Linked DNA regions of Homo sapiens: region 2 is linked to region 1. The links are contacts of gene promoters, found by promoter capture Hi-C in blood cells and fetal thymus (Javierre and others, 2016). All regions are on one chromosome and are shown on one strand. The core of a region is centred on a gene start or on the middle of the fragment in contact, and the rest is flanking DNA. Distances in the headings are between cores, read along the strand shown. Region 1 holds the start of UGGT1 (UDP-glucose glycoprotein glucosyltransferase 1). Region 2 overlaps DDX18 (DEAD-box helicase 18).

Region 1 (4,891 bases), core at 805-3,304:
TACACTTTTAACATTTAAAACTGAGCATGATCTTTCCTTTCCAGTGAAACAAAATTTAAAAATAAACAGGAACAAAATTACAATAGAGAATGTCAATTCCAAATAAGATCCTAGAGGTTCTGCTGATTCTCCCACTGAGTGGCAGGGCTCAAGTCATCATTAGGAGAGAATTTATTTTAAAAGCGTCATCTTAAACTGCAAGGATGTGTGTCAAACATCGCAATTAAACATGCCAAAGGAGAAGCCATGTTGTCAAAATGTCCGCTTAACCCACCCAAACATCTCAGACCCACCCTTTGCTGACTTCTAGAATCCCATTTTTTAAAGTTTTTTTCTTTTTTTAAACAAGAGAAAGTAGACAGAAAGATGTTGGTAAATGCTAACTGTCCATATTCACATAGAGACCCAGTGTACTCTCCGAGCCCAATATACAGAGAAAGCAGGAAGAAAGCTAGAATTGAATGCTCTGCTACACATGGGCCTAGAGCCCTCCAGCTTCCAGCAGGGCGAAGGGAGCAGGTTTTTCTTTTTTCCCACAGAGCTGGGGTGATGTTGATTCTATACAGTTTTTGCTCAGACAGGAAGGGATAAAAATGAATTTCGAACAGAAAGGGGTAGAGACTCTTTTCCCATTGTATTCTGCTGAAGTTATTTCCCCCAAAATAAGTTGAGAACTATAGTGTAGAGAAAAGAAACCTCAAGAACAGGGCGACTGAGCACAAGAGAGAAAAAACAAAAAACAAAAAAACAAAAAAACTGCAACTTGCTCCCAGGGACTGGAGAAAATGTAAAAAAAGGAAGGTTGGAATCCATCAGTGTTTTTTTGCTGTTGTTGTTGCTGTTTTTTTTTTTTTTGAGATGGAGTCTCCCTCTCTCGCCCAGGCTGGAGTGCAGTGATGCGATCTCTGCTCACTGCAAGCAACCTCCGCCTCCCGGGTTCACGCCATTCTCCTGCCTCAGCCTCCATCCTCAGCGTGAGCCACCGCGCCCGGCCTCCATCAGTGTTCCATTAGTCATCTCCTTCATCCTCCTCTCCTTCCTCCCCTTCATCATGTTGGCTCATGTTTATTTATTAAAATTATTTTGGGCCGGGCGCAGTGGGTCACGCCTGTAATCCCAGCACTTGGGAGGCCGAGGCGGGTGGATCATCTGAGGTCAGCAGTTCGAGACCAGCCTGGCCAACAGGGTGAAACCCTGTCTCTACTAAAAATACAAAAATTAGCCAGGCGCGGTGGCGCACGCCTGTAATCCCAGCTACTGGGGAGGCTGAGGTGGGAGAATCGCTTGAATGCGGGTCGGGGGGTTGGGGGGTGGGGGGCGCGGGCGGGGGCGCGGAGGTTGCAGTGAGCCGAGATCGCGCCACTGCATTCCAGCCTGGGAGACAGAGCGAGACTCCAACTCCAAAAAAATATTTTTGGCTTTTCATTCACTTTGACTTAATATACTTAAAAATATACCCTCCAAAGAGGTATTCATTTTTGGGTGGGTTAAATGCTACCTATTCCAAAACAATTTTAAACTGGTTTATATTAGTTAAAAAAAAAATACTAAAAGGACAAAGTAGTCCCTGTAGACTAAGCTGCCGCTGTCCGAATAAGAAAGCTCAAGCGGCTCATAAAATTTAAAAAGTCTTCCTTTCATCATGCCTCCTGGAAGGTAGCTATCAAAATTTTAGGGTTTAGTATAAAGTCTAAGATGCTCAGAAACATTAAGACAATTGTCCTTACTGTGCCACCGAAAGGCTAAAGGGAGTAAGCTTTTAACAAAGGTTTAAGGGAGTAAGTCCCAGAGTCCAAACTGGATTTCACCGACTGACTGTTGAAGCTTTCGGGTCTCAGCTGTTGGCCCAACGAACCTTCCCAAGACCTTGAAGACCGGCAGCCTACCCGCCACCCTGAAAGGCGGAAGTGAGGAGAGAGGCAGGACTCCCCCCTCCCCAACCCTCGGAGATGAGAGGGCGACCGCGCGACGCTCTGGGCTGCTAGGTCTCGACTCGGTATCCGGAAGTCCTCCAGCGTTCGCCTGCAGGAAGCGGAAGTAAAAGGGCGGCCGGCAGCTGGGCAATTGCTTTGCGAGGCTGGGTGTTGAGTCGAGCCGCGGGAAAGGCGCGTGTCGGCCTCTCACTGGCGCAGCCTGCACTGCCGCTGCCGCCTCGCCCCGCCCTGCCCTGGCGTTGTCTCTGGCACTGTGGCGGACTGACCACGGCCCGGGCATGGGCTGCAAGGGAGACGCGAGCGGTGCGTGTGCCGCGGGTGCGCTGCCGGTGACAGGTACCCAGGGGTGGCGTGAGGAGGCCTCGTGGACAAAGAGAGGGTTTGGGGCACAAGGCGACCCTGTGCCCCTGTCACATTGAGCTTCCGCCTCTACCGTGACTCAGTTTACCCTCTGGTGTCCTATCCCTTCCCCTATTCGCGAGCGCCCCGAGTTGCCCTCAGTGGTCTTCTTGGCAAGGTATCGCTTCCGCGGGGGTGGCGGCGGGCTCTGTTCAGCGGTCTTGAACCTTCTTTGAAGAGCTTTAGATCCTTGTGCCAAGTGCAGAAGGAAATGGGGGAGGTATCCTACCATGGATTTAGACCAAGCTTGATCCTCAGTGAGTTGAGAAGCAGCACTTTGCAGGACCCTGATTGCAGAACGACGTGCTTTTTAAAATAGATTTCAATTTTTCCTAAAATGAATTCGGGTTGATGCGTATTGGTTACTGTTTTCTTTTAACACTGTGATCTGTTGGCTGGAAATTGGATGATATGGTTTCACTTTTAGCGTGGGACCTGCCAGAATGAGATCTGCGTCCGTCGCCAATAACTTATAGATGTGAACTGTTTTTGTTCCTTGGCCAGAATCTGCAGTTGTTTTGCATTTCTTGCCAGATTTGAGAAGGAGCAATTTTGTTCGTTTGAAGTCCTGGGGTCTTTTGCCTTATTGTGCTACACTAACTGTTTTGGAAACATTCATTGATGTACTTGCCAGCCAATTTTAGTGTAAAGTGCCCTCTTTCCTTCAAGAATCTTACACTTGCAGGCGTTTGAAGACATTTTAAATAGCTATTTAACAGCACCACAAAACTTGGAATAATTGTAGCCTTTTCACTTTGCTTTTTTTTTTTTTAAGCCAGTCGAATTTAGCAACACTTGACTTGCTTTTGATAAACTTAGCTGAAGCTTATTTTAAAAAAATTCTTATTTATTTATTTATTTATTTATTTTGTAGAGATGAGGTCTTGTTACCTACCAGTCTGATCTTGAACTCCTGGCCACATGAAACTTATTAAAGGAAGTGACCATAATACTTTGTACAGTAGCATAGCACATTTATAATGCACATTGAACTTCAGGGGAATATATGAAAGTAAGAAGAAAATTTGCTTAGAACTTTCCTGCAGCTGTCTGTGAGCATTTTCTTTTTTTATCTAAGTTTCCCTGTAACAATACAAGATGATGTGATAATTTTCTTTCTTTCTTTCTTTTTTTTTTTTTTTTTGAGATGGAGTTTCACTCTTGTTACCCAGGCTGGAGTGCAATGGTGCAAGAGATAGTGTTTTAATTTATTTTTTTATTTTTTGTTGGTGAGGCAGAGTCTTGCTCTGTTGCCCAGGTTAGAGAATAGTGACATGATCTTGCTAGCTGCAGCCTCCACCTCCTGGGCTCAGGTGGTCCTCCTACCTCAGCCTCCTACGGATGGTTGTTGATAGTTGGGCCTAGAACTTGTTAAAGAGTGTTTTCTGTTTATTCATCATGCCGCAAGTATAATGCTTATCATGCAAAGCCACATGGCACATTCTGTTGGCCATTATCTCAGACTGTTTGTCTTTATAAGCAACATTTAAGAACCCCTAGGGTCAGAATGATAAGGGATCCTATAAAATGAAGACATACTCAAAGCAGAGACCACTTCAGTGAGATTCTTACGTCTGCTTCTCTGGACAGTCTTTTCCTCTGGTTTTACCTGTAGAGTTAAGAATGTGGGGTCAGAGTGGCAAAGCTCTTTTTTAATGTATAGCTTTCCTCCTTTTTTCATCTCAAATGGTGCTGCATCTCTCCCCAAGAACACGTACTCTCTCTCCTTTTTGAAAACAGTGTAGGGGGATCTCGAGGCAGGCCACAGGTTCATAGGATTTTCATTTTACCTATCTTGCAGTCCTAGGCATTTTATAGCATCTTCACTCTTGGTGCCACACTCCTTTCCTGTTGTTTCCATTCATGCCTTAATGAATGAGGCCTGTGTTTATTTCATTTTGAGAGCCTTCTATGTTTCAGGCATAATGCTAGGCGTGGAGACCATGATAGACAAAACACCCTGCTCTTGAGGAGCTCCCATCGGTCCCCAAAGCCAGCGTAAGTGTGGATCTGTCAGATTGGTTGGTTGGATTGCTTCGGTCCCAGCTTCAGGCCTCCTCCCTTGGTTTCAGGTTAAAACTATTCCTTTCTCAGCCACCTGTCTCCCAAGAACTGTGGCCACTGAAAATCCTTGGACTTGCCTTGGTTCTCACAAGCACTTTTCTCAGTCTGAGTCTGCACAGAGTATGGCTTTTTACCCTTTTGTAAAGCCAGAGAACCAGAGAAGAGAGCACGGTATTGTAGAACTTTAAAAGCAGGAAGGTGTGGGTTCTAAGCACTGCTATTTATTAGTTAGGCAAGGTACTCAGCATCTTCGAGCTTTCACTTATTTTTAAAGTGGAGATGCATGCAGCATATTCATGGACTGTCTTCTGAGTGCCAGGCATCATGCTGTGCACTTTGGTAAACGAAGTAGACATGGTTGCTCCCCTCAGAGAACGTTAGTGCCCTGGGTTGTTGTATGTAAGGATTAGATAACACTGTGTATGTAAAGCACCTAATACAATGTTTAGCTCAGAGTCATTGCTTGTTAAATGCTGGGGTTTCCTCAGGGGACT
Region 2 (4,723 bases), core at 1,954-4,453, about 10 Mb before region 1:
AGGGAAAGTTTGGAGGCACAGTGCCTTGCCCCAGTTGGTTTTCAACAGACATTAATTGAAAAAAAATTCTGCAGGAGGCAATAGGTTTGTGAATTTTAGGAATATGTTTTGAAATACTCTTGTATTTCTAATTCCTATAGAATAATACTACAGCATTACTACTTTTCAGCGCATATGTAAGTAAATTTGAACAAAAGATGGTGTTTTATCTTTTTCAGTAAACAAACAGGGAACCTTTGGTAAGGACATTCTCAGGTACAGTCATGCATCGCATAACAGGAGGGGGGATACATTGTGAGAAATGTGTCATTAGGGGCTTTTGTCGTTTTGCGAACTTTATCTAGTTACACAAACCTAAATCTACTACACACCCAGGCTACATGATATAGCCTGTTGCTCGTAAGCTGTCATCCTGTACAGCATGTTACTGTACTATACTCAGAGAATTGTAACACAATGGTAAGTGTATGTATGGCTAAATATATCTAAACATAGAAAAGGTACAGTAAAAAGACTATGACATGAGAGATTTAGAAAATGGTACCTCTGTATACAGTACTTACCATGAATGGAGTTTGCAGGACTGGAAGTTACCCTGAGCGAGTCAGTGAGCGGTGAGTGAATGTGAAGGCCTAGAACATTACTGTACACTATAGACTTTATAAACACTGTACACTTGGGCTACACTGTTGAGTTTTTTAATACTTTTATTCTTAAATTAACCTTAGCCTGCTGTAACTTTTACATTATAAACTTGTTAAATTTTAACCTTTTGACTTTAATAACACTTAGCTTACAACACAAGCACATTGTACATACAGCTGTACAAAAAGTTTCCTTTTGTCCTTATTCTATGTGATTTTTATTTTATTTTTTTTTCTTTTTAAGCTTTTTGTTAAAAATGTAAAGACACAGACACATTCAGTTTCACTGTCTTCCGCTTCCACATCTTGTCCCACTGGAAGATCTTCAGGGGCAACAATAGGCATGGAGCTGTCATCTCCTATGATAACAGTGCCTTCTAAAATACCTCTCTCCCTGAGGCTCTTTTACAGTCGACTCATTTTTTTTTAATAAGTAAAAGGAGTAAACTCTAAAATGATGATCAAAAGTATAGTAAACACATAAACAAGTAACATAGTTTATTATCACGTATTATGTATTGTACATAATTATGTGTGCTGTACTTTATACGACTGGCATTACAGTAGATTTGTTTATACTAGCATCACTACAAACATGAGTAATATGTTGCACTACGACATTGCAGTTACTGATGGCACTAGGTGATAGGAATTTTTTAGCTCCGTTATAATCTTATGGAGCCACTGTATATGTTGTCCTTAATTCACAGAAATGTCATTGTGCACGCATTACTGTATTTGCATATGATAAATATTGGAGCAAATAAGTGGTCTTATCAACTGAATTTTCAACTCACTGCAGTCTAGAAGAGTTGGGGTTGAATGTTTTGAAGTGGTATGAAAAATAGTACTTGTGTGAATGAGTTGTAAATGTCTTTTTCAATATATCAGTTAATCATATGTTTATCAAATACTTATGTTTATTCTGTAACTGCCATTATCTGACCTCATCTGTTTAAATATTTGACCTCATTGAAGTTTTCCTGTCCTAGACTCCTTAAAGTCAGATGTACGGTCTTTTGCAGTTAAGAAATCAATATAGCTTTCCCTTTTCCAGTATTTTTTCTTTAAGATAACTTACTTTCCCTATAAGGGAACACCATAAAACTATAAGTTGTTTTAATTACATGAAAGAGAAGAAAATCTAAATAATTTGTGTCAGGAAGCCATGGAAGTTCTCATTTGGGATTTCAGTGTTTCTAAGTAAACTTCTCCTTCTTTGTCACAGTATATGTTCTGTTTATTTAAACAGGGGCCTCAAATCTGACCCTATCGGAAACTCAAAATGGAGATGTATCTGAAGAAACAATGGGAAGTAGAAAGGTTAAAAAATCAAAACAAAAGCCCATGAATGTGGGCTTATCAGAAACTCAAAATGGAGGCATGTCTCAAGAAGCAGTGGGAAATATAAAAGTTACAAAGTCTCCCCAGAAATCCACTGTATTAACCAATGGAGAAGCAGCAATGCAGTCTTCCAATTCAGAATCAAAAAAGAAAAAGAAGAAAAAGAGAAAAATGGTGAATGATGCTGAGCCTGGTAGGTATTTATTATCTTTGAACTTCAGCCATTTAGTTTTTCACAGACGGTTATTGTTCCTCTTTCTATTACTATTGTGTGCACATGACATGAGAATTCCCTGTACTCACCAGTATGTTAGAGATTAGCCTGGTAGCTAATGGAAACATTTTATTGGCAGAAGCGGGGAGTCCATTTCAACTTTTCTCAAAATATTGAGGAATATATTTTTAATTTCACTAACCTTGAAGAAAACCTCTCTCAGAAAAGACTCTCCTTAGAATTCTAGAAATTTTCTCTTCTTTTTAAGTTACCTTTTTTCCTGCTTGATTCTTCCCATTTTCCTTCCATAAATTCCTCCCTTTGAAAGGAATATTAGTTACAAAGTATATAAAGTAGGAAACTTCTGAATAAATGGAACATTAATTTCCAAGTGCTAAGAATGGCAGGAGGAAAAGGAAGGAATGTTTTTTGAAGATGATGGAATTTCAGTAAGCTCGGATGAAAGAATGGACATTATAATTGAGATTTGTATAAGCAGAGATATCAAGGTAGGATAAGATAGGGGTCAGCAAACTATCCCTCCTTCTACCTGTTTTTGTAAATAAAGTTTTACTGGGTCATAGCAATGCCTATTTGGTTGTGTTTATGGCAACAGAGATCATATGACCTGCAAAGCCTAAACTATTTACTATCTGGCCCTTTGCGGAAAGTTTGCCAGCCCCTGAGTTGGAACATCCTATTCATGTATTTTACCTGAAATAAGGGTTTTATTTAGAAAGGGACTTTGAACTTTTCCAAACATGCATTACTGTCTTCATGATGCCTACACACAGAAGTCATTGTAATCCTGTTCTAAAATTATTGCCTTCACAATTCTTGTTTTGAGTATGCCCCAGGAAGTGGTATTATTTCTGCTCCCAAGCATTGAATCACAATGCTGGGCGTTTTAACCTTATGGGTTTTTTGTTTGTTTGTTTGTTTGTTTGTTTTATTATGAGATGGGGTCTCACTGTGTTGTCCAAGCTGGTCTTGAACTCCTGGGCTCAAGTGATCCTCCCACCTCGGCTTCCCAAAGTGCTGGGATTACAGGCAGAAGCCACCACACCCAACCACCTTATGGGTACATTTTAGGAACTATTCCAGGGAAAACAAAATAAGCCATGGAGACCAGCTGAAGATATCTGTGGCTTTTGAACATGTAGGTCCTACAAAGTTGACTCTTTCCTGGAAGGGTGGCCGTCAGGTACAGGGAGGAGACCAGTACTGAGCTACAGAGAGTCCTGGGTTGTGGTCTAAGTTCTTTTCAAACATCACTAATTGCCATATAGTTTTATATAAACACAGCATGTGGTTAATCCATTTGACCCAGAGTCGAACATTGAAAAGAGAAGTGAGAGGTAGGACTGAAAAGGTAGTTGGGGCCACATGAAAGTTGTGAATGTAGAAATGAGGGTGGGAAGAAGCCCTGCCTTTCCTCCCACCCTCATCCCTGATAGCCAAGGCACAGTCCAGTGTATGTCAGCCAGGCAAGTGGGTTGTTGCCCTTCCTTTACAGTCTATCTCTAGTAACATGAAGAGCCTTTGATAGTGATTGGCGTGGGAAGAAAAATGACTACTTATAATGAGTTTTTAAGGATTATGTTAATCAGGTATGCTTCCTTTCCCCTCAGTGGAGTATGTGAAACTTATAATTGGTATGTTTATACTGTTTAGTTGAACAAAAGCCTAAAAGGTTTTGTCACCAAGTCTGTCTGTACCCTGGGTTTTTAAATACAACCACTCATTTTTCACCAAACAGAATTCTTAACAAATTAATACAGCATATACTTAGCTTTTGAAAATATACGTCTTTATATCAGAGATCTTCTGTTTGTTGATCTCATTTGGAATTCTATTTTAAGGAAAAATTTTTTCGGATTTTGTCTTTTAAAACCAAAGATACGAAAAAAGCAAAAACTGAAAACAAAGGGAAATCTGAAGAAGAAAGTGCCGAGACTACTAAAGAAACAGAAAATAATGTGGAGAAGCCAGATAATGATGAAGATGAGAGTGAGGTGCCCAGTCTGCCCCTGGGACTGACAGGTAACGTCCAGGAAGTTTTCTAGAGGTAACTTCTTTAAAATGTGCCTCTCTTAGAGGATTATAGGTTTGAAGGTTCAGTTGTGACTTTCAGTTTACCTGAAAAAAGTAACTATCAACAAGAAACTTTTTTTATATCTTTCTGCTGCTTTTTCTCTTTATCTTCTATTTTGTGGTGTTTTAGTTCTTTTTGTTCCCTGTTTTTTTCCTTTTGTTCATTCCTGACACCAAATATTTTATATGCACACTAGCAGCTTCTAGGATTCCTTGGTTTGTCCTTTTCTGAGTCTCATTCTATGTTGTAATAGGAAAATGATTGGCCCTGTACGAGGTTAACCTCCTTTGGCCTTTGTTCCTTTATAAAGTTGAGTTTAGGCTAGAATTCACTGCTCCTAACCAGATATGTCTAGGAGTTACTTGAGTTGTTTATTTGGTTTGGGTTGGTTGGTTTGTTAAAATGTTGAGGCCCAACCCTAGACCT

Evidence for each region. Contacts are between HindIII fragments. The CHiCAGO score rates a contact against its expected background, and 5 or more counts as called.
Region 2: a fragment that was not itself captured here is called in contact with the fragment with the promoter of UGGT1 in region 1 in 1 of 17 cell types (non-activated CD4 T cells); the score reaches 7.4 in non-activated CD4 T cells.

What each region holds. Positions count from the first base shown.
Region 1 is chr2:128,089,146-128,094,036 of GRCh38, forward strand. It overlaps UGGT1 (UDP-glucose glycoprotein glucosyltransferase 1), which reads left to right and starts at 2,055. Exons shown (of 41, transcript NM_020120.4): 1 at 2,055-2,270. The coding sequence starts at 2,213. RefSeq lists an enhancer at 1,817-2,126. The HindIII fragment of the contact is 755 bases long and covers 1,823-2,577 here.
Region 2 is chr2:117,815,548-117,820,270 of GRCh38, forward strand. DDX18 (DEAD-box helicase 18) reads left to right here. Exons shown (of 14, transcript NM_006773.4): 2 at 1,897-2,181; 3 at 4,102-4,245. Among named protein-coding and RNA genes, the nearest start is that of DDX18, 3.2 kb to the left of the region's middle. RefSeq lists an enhancer at 1. The HindIII fragment of the contact is 4,634 bases long and covers 887-4,723 here.